3 separate regions of the Homo sapiens genome follow, and all the other regions are linked to region 1. Evidence: promoter capture Hi-C in human tissues and cell types (Jung and others, 2019). All regions are on one chromosome and are shown on one strand. Each heading gives the region's core, a stretch centred on a gene start or on the middle of the fragment in contact. The rest is flanking DNA. Distances are from core to core; before and after follow the strand shown. Region 1 holds the start of COX6C (cytochrome c oxidase subunit 6C). Region 2 has its middle 6.7 kb from the start of RGS22. Region 3 overlaps RGS22 (regulator of G protein signaling 22).

What was found. The method cuts DNA at HindIII sites, captures the fragments that hold promoters and counts their contacts. A contact is called where the count stands out against the background at its distance.
Region 2: a contact is called between a fragment that was not itself captured here and the fragment with the promoter of COX6C in region 1, in 3 of the 25 tissues and cell types used here (H1 embryonic stem cells, bladder and thymus).
Region 3: a contact is called between a fragment that was not itself captured here and the fragment with the promoter of COX6C in region 1, in 1 of the 25 tissues and cell types used here (aorta).

What each region holds. Positions count from the first base shown.
Region 1 is chr8:99,892,247-99,895,064 of GRCh38, reverse strand. It overlaps COX6C (cytochrome c oxidase subunit 6C), which reads left to right and starts at 1,358. Exons shown (of 4, transcript NM_004374.4): 1 at 1,358-1,426. RefSeq lists a silencer at 1,577-1,746 and enhancers at 1,220-1,867, 1,868-2,516. The HindIII fragment of the contact is 7,152 bases long and covers 1-2,818 here.
Region 2 is chr8:100,111,306-100,114,123 of GRCh38, reverse strand. No RefSeq gene overlaps it. Among named protein-coding and RNA genes, the nearest start is that of RGS22, 6.7 kb to the right of the region's middle. The HindIII fragment of the contact is 8,380 bases long and covers 1-2,818 here.
Region 3 is chr8:100,088,285-100,091,102 of GRCh38, reverse strand. The region is part of intron 3 of RGS22 (regulator of G protein signaling 22); the gene reads left to right. Among named protein-coding and RNA genes, the nearest start is that of RGS22, 16 kb to the left of the region's middle. The HindIII fragment of the contact is 7,696 bases long and covers 1-2,818 here.

The DNA of each region.
Region 1 (2,818 bases), core at 109-2,608:
GAGAAAGCAGACTTAGAAAGATGAAGAAATTTGCCGCTACAAGTTGATGAGCTGGGACTCAAATCCAGGTCTGTTCGGCTCTAGAACAGAACCTATATGTAACATGTCTCTCTTCATCTATCGCTCAGGTTTTATTCACGTGTCACCCTCAGTCATTCACTATGGTTCACTGGATAGCTAGGGAAGCACAGAACAAACACTCAGTATTTCACTCAGGTCAGGCTCTGTGCCCTGAGTGTGCCTGTCTTTGCCATGTTCTCCCAGCCAATGTTTTCTCTCCAATTTCTCCAGTTTTCCAGGCTTTCCATTAGACTGAAACTCAGCTCTGCTTCCATCTCTTCCACGTATTGTCTGAAGCTTTCCCTGATGGTTTCACATACACTAATCCCTGTGAACTCTTAAGTTCACCACTTCTTCTCTGGGGGTGGGGATGGAAAGAGAATAGAAACAAATTACTCTCTGGACAAATTCCATGCAAAGATTTTCAGCTGGGTAGACCCTTGATAAGAGGCCTGAAAAACGTTGGTAAAGTCCAAACCTACTTTTGAACCTCAATTGAGCACCTTTCTTTGTGGCCAGGTTTCACCCTCCAGAGTGTTGGTTAATAGGTTGAGGACAAAGACTCCCTGATCAGAATGAGACTCCCCGAAGATCTGTCCTCTTGTTTAGCAGAATCTGGCACATAGTAGGTACTCAGTGTATATATCGACTCAATATCATGCATCTGTTGTGTCCCAGCTACCTTCCACAGGGCTTGATGGGTTGACTTAAATAATGCTTTTAAAATTCAGGTTATTTCAATACAAACAGCCTGGCATCATTAAGGCACAAGAGCCTCACCCTTCTACACCACTTTCCACGAACTTCCAGTTGCCTTCCTTCAAAATCCTTGTTTTCTTAAGAAACCCACAAAAATACCGCCCCTCTATCAAAACGTCCTCAGCTTTGCCAGGTAGAGAATTGCTTCTGCAGTAGCTGGGCCACGTCTCTGTGGTAGTGCCCACTGCATGGGATCGGTATTAATCTGTTTGTCTTTTTCATCTTCTGGGCTGTGAGCTCCTAGAAGTCAGCTTTTTCACTTTTACCCAAGCCAAACGGTTATTCGCGTAAGGTTGGTTATAATTAAAATGTCGGTTTGTGCACATGGTTTGGGACTCTGTGTATGAGTACGACTAATATCTTCAATTTACTAAGAAGATAAAGAGGTCGATAAATAAGGAGGTCAAGCCCGTTTTGCAAGGTCACACAGGAAAGAAGCAGACCACGAAATGAACTTCGGCTGTCACCTGCGGTGGGCGCACTAGAGGTCTTTTGAACTCCTTCGGCTACCGTCGCCGCGTTCTCGCTGTGCACTCTTATTCTGCGCCTGCGCGCGGCTACAGCACGGTTCGTTTTTCCTTTAGTCAGGAAGGACGTTGGTGTTGAGGTGAGTCCGGTCCCTTTTGCATCCCTACCCCGACACTGCGGGTTGTCACAACGGCACCCTCCCGCTTTCTCTCTGCCTCGGATTTAGTCGTGACTGTGTGTCTCCGCCGTGGTGCAGCTTCAGGCCTCTCCCGCATCTACTCTCTCACGCTTCCGCTGCGGCCTGAGGGAGGGCGGCGGGCGGACCACGGACCGGGGTGGGTTGCGACGGCCCCACCGAAGCCGGGTGGGCTGCGGGACCCTCGAGAACCCAGCTGGCTTCGGAGTGAGCTGGCCCGGGGCTGGTACCCGCTGCGCTTTTTCACAGCCATTGTGACCTTGGTGAGGTCATTTGACCTATCTGGCCCCGGTGTTTCTCCCGTGAGAAAAGGGGTGGTGGTTTCTAATGCAGCTGGTCGTGAGGCGCAAGGGTTAGTGTAGGCGAAGCAGCTGGCAGCGTCGCTCGCTGTGTGGCAGCGTTTTAAATTAGAGCTGGAAAACTGGAGGAGGGTCACCGTACCTGCCGCAGGAGGGGAAGGATGGGCTTCCTGCAACCTCCCTTGCCCCACGGCTTCCCATCCTACCCCCGGCCGCGTTAGCTGAAGGCCAGCAGGGACGCAAAAGTTTTTAGGCCCCTTAGGTCTTTAGGTGAGGCTGGGCAAAGGAGCAGTTAGGGAATTTGGGCCCTCATGGTATTTGCCGCGTTCCCGTCCAGGTTTTAATGGTATACCGTGTGACCGTGGAAAACACCTGCCTCATGATCTGACAGGGTTGTCGCGAAGGTTTAACGAGTGGACAGAAAATTTTTAGAAGAGAAAGTGTTGCATAAATGGGTTTGCAATCGTTAATTACCAATGCGGAGCTACTGCTTATTTTTCTTGTTGTTGGAAAGATTTTTGTTGCCTTTGCTCGTCCATTACTAGTGTGCCGCAGTTTGTCGCGTTTATTTAGGGTGGTCGCTCAGTATATGGGGGGCGGGGGGAAGATGAAACAGGCTAAGCCAAGAGACAGCTTAGGCTTTGTGGGAGGAATCCATCCACTGTCGTGCTGTGCCTCTCTAGGTAGTAAAATGTACTATGCATGAGAATTCCTTTTGATATCTTTTCTGAGTTTTTCTTTTATTATTTTACCCGAGAAAGGGAAAAAAAGCTCAGAGTAGTGAGAGCTACATGAGGTATGCAGGACGCAGAGACCTGAGTATTGGACTTCAGTGCCGCCCCTCACCCATGTCTCAACCCAAATCTTATTCCTGAATTTGTGATATAAAGGACAGCGTTTAGTCAGTCAATAGCTTATGTTATTTTAATGTAAATTTTTGATAAACAGTTTAGGAATTGCCTCTCATTTTTTCTTAACTCACTTGTAGGCCGGAATCCCAGCACTTTGGGAGGACGAGGTAGGATGATCACTTGAG
Region 2 (2,818 bases), core at 178-2,677, 220 kb before region 1:
CCTGCAAAGGACATGAACTCATGCTTTTTATGGCTGCATAGTATTCCATGGTGTATATGTGCCACATTTTCTTTATCCAGTCTATACTGATGGACATTTGGGTTGGTTCCAAGTCTTTGCTATTGTGAACAGTGCTACAATAAAAATGTGTGCATGTGTCTTTATAGCAAAATGATTTATAATCCTTTGGGTATATACCCCATAATGGGATCACTGGGTCAAATGGTATTTCTAGTTCTAGATCCTTAGGAATTGCCACACTGTCTTCCACAATGGTTGAACTAATTTATACTCCCACCAACAGTGTAAAAGTGTTCCTATTTCTCCACTCTGATGATAGTTTCTTTTGCTGTGCAGAAGCTCTTTAGTTTAATTAGATCCCATTTGTCTGTTTTGGCTTTTGTTACCATTGCTTTTGGTGTCTTAGACATGAAGTTTTTGCCCATGCCTATGTCCTGAATGGTATTGCCCAGGTTTTCTTCTAGGATTTTTATGGTCCTAGGTCTTACCTTTAAGTCTTTGATCCATCTTGAGTTGATTTTTGTATAGGGTACAAGGAAGGGGTCCAGTTTCAGTTTTCTGCATATGGCTAGCCAGTTTTCCCAACAACATTTATTAAATAGGGAATTCTTTTCCCCATTCCTTGTTTGTGTCAGATTTGTCAAAGATCAGATGGTTGTAGATGTGTGGTGTTATTTCTGAGGCCTCTGTTCTGTTCCTTTGGTCTATGTATCTGTTTTGGTACCAGTACTATGCTGTTTTGGTTACTGTAGCCTTGTAGTATAGTGTGAAGTCAAGTAGCGTGGTATCTCCAGCTTTGTTCTTCTTGCCCAAGATTGTCTTGGCTATGCGGGCCCTTTTTTGGTTCCATATGAACTTTAAAGTAGTTTTTTCCAATTCTGTGAAGAAAGTCAGTGGTAGCTTGATGGGTATAGCATTGAATCTATACATTACTTTGGACAGTATGGCCATTTTCACGATATTGATTCTTCCTATCCATGAGCATAGAATGTTTTTCCATTTGTTTGGGTCCTTTCTTACTTCCTTGAGCAGTGGTTTGTAGTTCTCCTTGAAGAGGTTCTTCACATCCCTTGTAAGTTATGTTCCTTGGCATTTTATTCTCTTAGCAGCAATTGTGAATAGGAGTTCACTCATGAGTTGGCTCTCTGTTTGTCTGTTATTGGTGCATAGGAATGCTTGTGATTTTTGCACATTGATATTGTATTCTGAGACTGCTGAAGTTGCTTATCAGCTTAAGGAGATTTTGCATTGTGACTATGGGGTTTTCTAAATATACAATCATGTCATCTGCAAATAGAGACGATTTGACTTCCTCTCTTCCTATTTGAATACCCTTTATTTCTTTCTCTTGCCTGATGGCCCTGGCCAGAACTTCCAATACTATGTTGAATAGGAATGGTGAGAGAGGGCATTCTTGTCTTGTGCTGGTTTTCAAAGGGAATGCTTCCAGTTTTTGCCCATTCAGTATGATATTGGCTGTGGGTTTGTCATAAATAGCTCTTATTATTTTGAGATACGTTCCATTGATACCCAGTTTATTGAGAGTTTTTAGCATGAAGGGGTGTTGAATTTTGTTGAAGGACTTTTCTGCATCTATTGGGATAATCATGTGGTTTTTGTGATTGTTTCTGTTTATGTGATGGATTACGTTTATTGATTTGCGTATGTTGAACCAGGCTTGCATCCCAGGTAGGAAGCTGACTTGATCGTGGTGGATAAGCTTTTTGATGTGCTGCTGGATTTGGTTTGGCAGTATTTTATTGAGGATTTTTGCATCGATGTTCATCAGGGATATTGCCTGAAATTTTCTTTTTTTGTTGTGTCTGCCAGGTTGTGGTATCAGGATGATGCTGGCCTCATAAAATGGGTTAGGGAAGATTTGCTCTTTTTCTATTGTTTGGAATAGTTTCAGAAGGAATGGTACCAGCTCCTCTTTGTACCTCTGGCAGAATTCAGCTGTGAATCTGTCTGGTCCTGGACTTTTTTTGGTTTGTAGGCTATTAATTACTGCCTCAATTTCAGAAGTTGTTATTGGTCTATTCAGGGATTTGACTTATTCCTGGTTTGGACTTAGGAGAGTGTATGTGTCCAGGAATTTATTTTCTTCTAGATTTTCTAGTTTATTTGCGTAGAGGTGTTTATAGTATTCTCTAATGGTAGTTTGTATTTCTGTGGGATCAGTGGTGATATCCCCTTTATCATTTTTTTATTGCATCTATTTGATTCTTCTCTCTTTTCTTCTTTATTAGTCTGGCTAGTGGTCTATCTACTTTGTTGATCTTTTCAAAAAACCAGCTCCTGGATTCACTAATTTTTTGAAGGGTTTTTCATGTCTCTATCTCCTTCAGTTCTGCTCTGATCTCAGTTATTTCTTGTCTTCTGCTAGATTTTGAATTTGTTTGCTGTTGCTTCTCTAGTTCTTTTCATTTTGATTTTAGGGTGTCAATTTTAGATCTTTCCTGTTTTCTCTTGTGGACATTTAGTGCTATAAATTTCCCTTTACACACTGCTCTAAATGTGTCCAGAGATCCTGGTTTGTTGTGTCTTCATTCTCATTGGTTTCAAAGAACATCTTTATTTCTGCCTTCATTTTGTTATTTACCTAGTGGTCATTTAGGAGCAGGTTGTTCAGTTTCCATGTAGTTGTGTGGTTTTGAGTGAGTTTTTAAATCCTAAGTTCTAGTTTGATTGCACTGTGATCTGAGAGACTGTTTGTTATGATTTCTGTTCTCTACATTTCCTCAGGAGTGTTTTACTTCCAATTATGTGGTCAATTTTAGAATAAGTGCAATGAGAT
Region 3 (2,818 bases), core at 93-2,592, 200 kb before region 1:
GGTTTATGAGCACTTAGCTAAATATTAGAAGCCAGTATGGGTTTACTGAGAGTAAGTATGCCAAACTAATCTTTCTTTTTTTGGATAGTTATAGACTGGTATTTTAGGGAACCATAAATTAATGTATTATGATTTCAATAAAGTATTATAAAAATAATAAATTGAATCATGTTACTTCCTGCTCTGTTCAAAACCCTGTCTAGGGACTTCTCATTACACTAAGAATAAAATCCAGAATCCTATATGATCTGGCTCTTGCTATCTCTTGATCTTTATTTTCTACTTATTTTCTCTACTTACTTTCCAACCTGACTGACTTTCTTTATGCTTCTCAAACATGAATATGCCAGATATACTCAGGGTCTTTCTACCTGGCATGCTCTTCTCTGAGATACCTGTATCACTTTCTCCTTGACTTAAATCCCTTCTGTTTAGAAAGCCTTCCCTAACAACCCTATCTAAAATAACAACCTCAACACATGCTCCACTTATAGTGCTTTGTCTCCAAAGACCTTATCATTATCTGTGAAATTAGTTTTCAAGTATTTGAACTGGTTGACTAACCATAACCAGCAGGGGTTGATTTTTAATAACCTACAGATTGAATTCCAAATTTGCTAGTATACAATTCAAGACCCTTTGTAATTTGGCTTCAACTTAATCTTTCTACCTTTATATCTCATTTCACATTACTTTTGCCATCCTGCATACTCTTTCCTGCCTCCCCTAGCCCACCAATCCATCTTGACCACACTTATTCTTCCCATGCTCAAATCTCACCATGTAATTGTTGGTATTAGGAGTGAGAGAACTGTGTTTGATTCCAGCTTTTCCACTCTTACCAGCATGATCTTAGAAACCTTGCTTACTTAATTCCCCAATTTCTTTCTCTATGAAGACAATATGACTATCTTACAAAATTATTATCAAGTGAGGTAACGTATGTTAAGCGCCTGGCACAGGTTTAGTGCTTCACTTTTCTTTTCCTTCACTAATTAGACTATCTCGTCCTCCATTCCTGCAGCATAACAGGCAATCACTGTTTAATGGGATTGGTGGATGGTCAATATAGAGGATAATCTTATGTGCCAAACAAATCTGTCATTGGCTTTGCCTTTTTAACTGTTTTTATCAGGGACTTGGATGAAAAGTTGCAAGTTCCAGTATTAGGTCATGCATCTAGTAAATAATGGTCCACACAGGTTCAGATGGCTCAAAACTTTTGATTGTCCCATCATGCTATGATGTCTATAGAACTGGCAGCAGAGGAGTAAACTAATGATTTGGATAAGAGAATCTGGTCTTGTTTTTATCCCGATAGTGTGAAATGGACCAAAACAAACAAAGCTAATGTGGTTTTAGGGGTCATTAATAGAAATGTAGTCAAGATCAAGAAAAATATTAGTCTGGAGCACAGAAAGCACTCAATAAATGTTTCTTTGAATAGAGTTAAATTGTCAGACTGCACTTAGACCGTTGTGTTCCATTTTTGGTGCCATATGTTAAGAGTTGCTCTGCCAAACCAGACTCAGGGAGTCTTAGCCAATGATCACTCTGGAAACCATGTCAAATGAAGGGTTGAAAGAAGTTTGGTGTTTAACCTGGCTTGGGAATGGGTAGCAGGGGTGAAATGGAGTAGTCCCTTTCAAATATTTTATGATTTGATTGAGGAAGAAGGGTTAACGTATTCTGTGAAACTAGAGTGCAGAACCACGGCCAGCATTTATGAGAGAAATTGATTTGATTTTCACTCACCATAAGAAGGAACTTTAGAATTTGTTTTCTAACAATTAAATGGGCTGACTTGTGAAGGAGTAAACTTGGAGGTATTCAAGTAGAGGTTAGAAAATCATCTTATGAGAATATCGTGTGTGTGTGTGTGTGTGTGTGTTTGTGTGTGTGTGTATCTCGTGTATCTCTATTATGTATATATATCTATGGTGGAAGATTGGACTTTCTTGACCAGAGAAAATTTCCTTCTTCTCTGTTTATTTTATCTCAGGAGCTACATTGTAAATTTCCTGGGGGCAAGGACAGGTCTTTTCTGTATCTCCCAAAGATTCTTGATTATGATTCTGTTTTTATTTCAACATCTTCCATGTAAGATCCTTAATATAAACAAGTAAACCTTCTAATCTTTTCTCCTGCCTCCTTTCTTCACCCACCTCTACCCTCAGTCCCCACCAAAAGCAATAGCCTAAGCCCTAGAGTGTAGATATAGACTATAGGGCCCTTAGGTCATCTCTGAGATGACTTCTGAGACTTTTTCCCTATCTGTAATGACATGCCCAAGGTCCTATAACCGGATTGTGGTAGAAATGGGCCTAGGAATCAGGCATTCTGGCCCCTACACTATTTCTTTCCATTACACCATTATACCCTTGGGACACATTGTAAGATCCTGAAACTGGTGGCTGGTAGCCTGCCTCCATGTTATTTTTTGATGAGGGGAATTCAGGACAGTTGCTGCTATTATAAATGATTGCAGCACTTTCCAAATCCTAGCTTTCATAACTTCATTCCGTTTGTTCTTGTGCCAAGTTCACATTCAGATATTGTTTTCATTTGGTGTCTGGGAGGTTTTTTGCTGTCAACTCTTTATGGACAAGTGTTTGCTTATTAAGTTTTCTTCCGTGCTATAGTGTGAAAACATTTTTTTCCTTTTGGCTTTGTTTTGTGTGTTTTATGCTTAGTGACTGTTGTGGGATTGAGTAGATGAGCCCACGTAGATTTAGGTTGGTCCTCTGTGGGTGGTTTCAAATGTTTGTGACATTTATAGTTTGCAGAAGCTGAAGGGGTGGCCTGTTCTATACCCTCC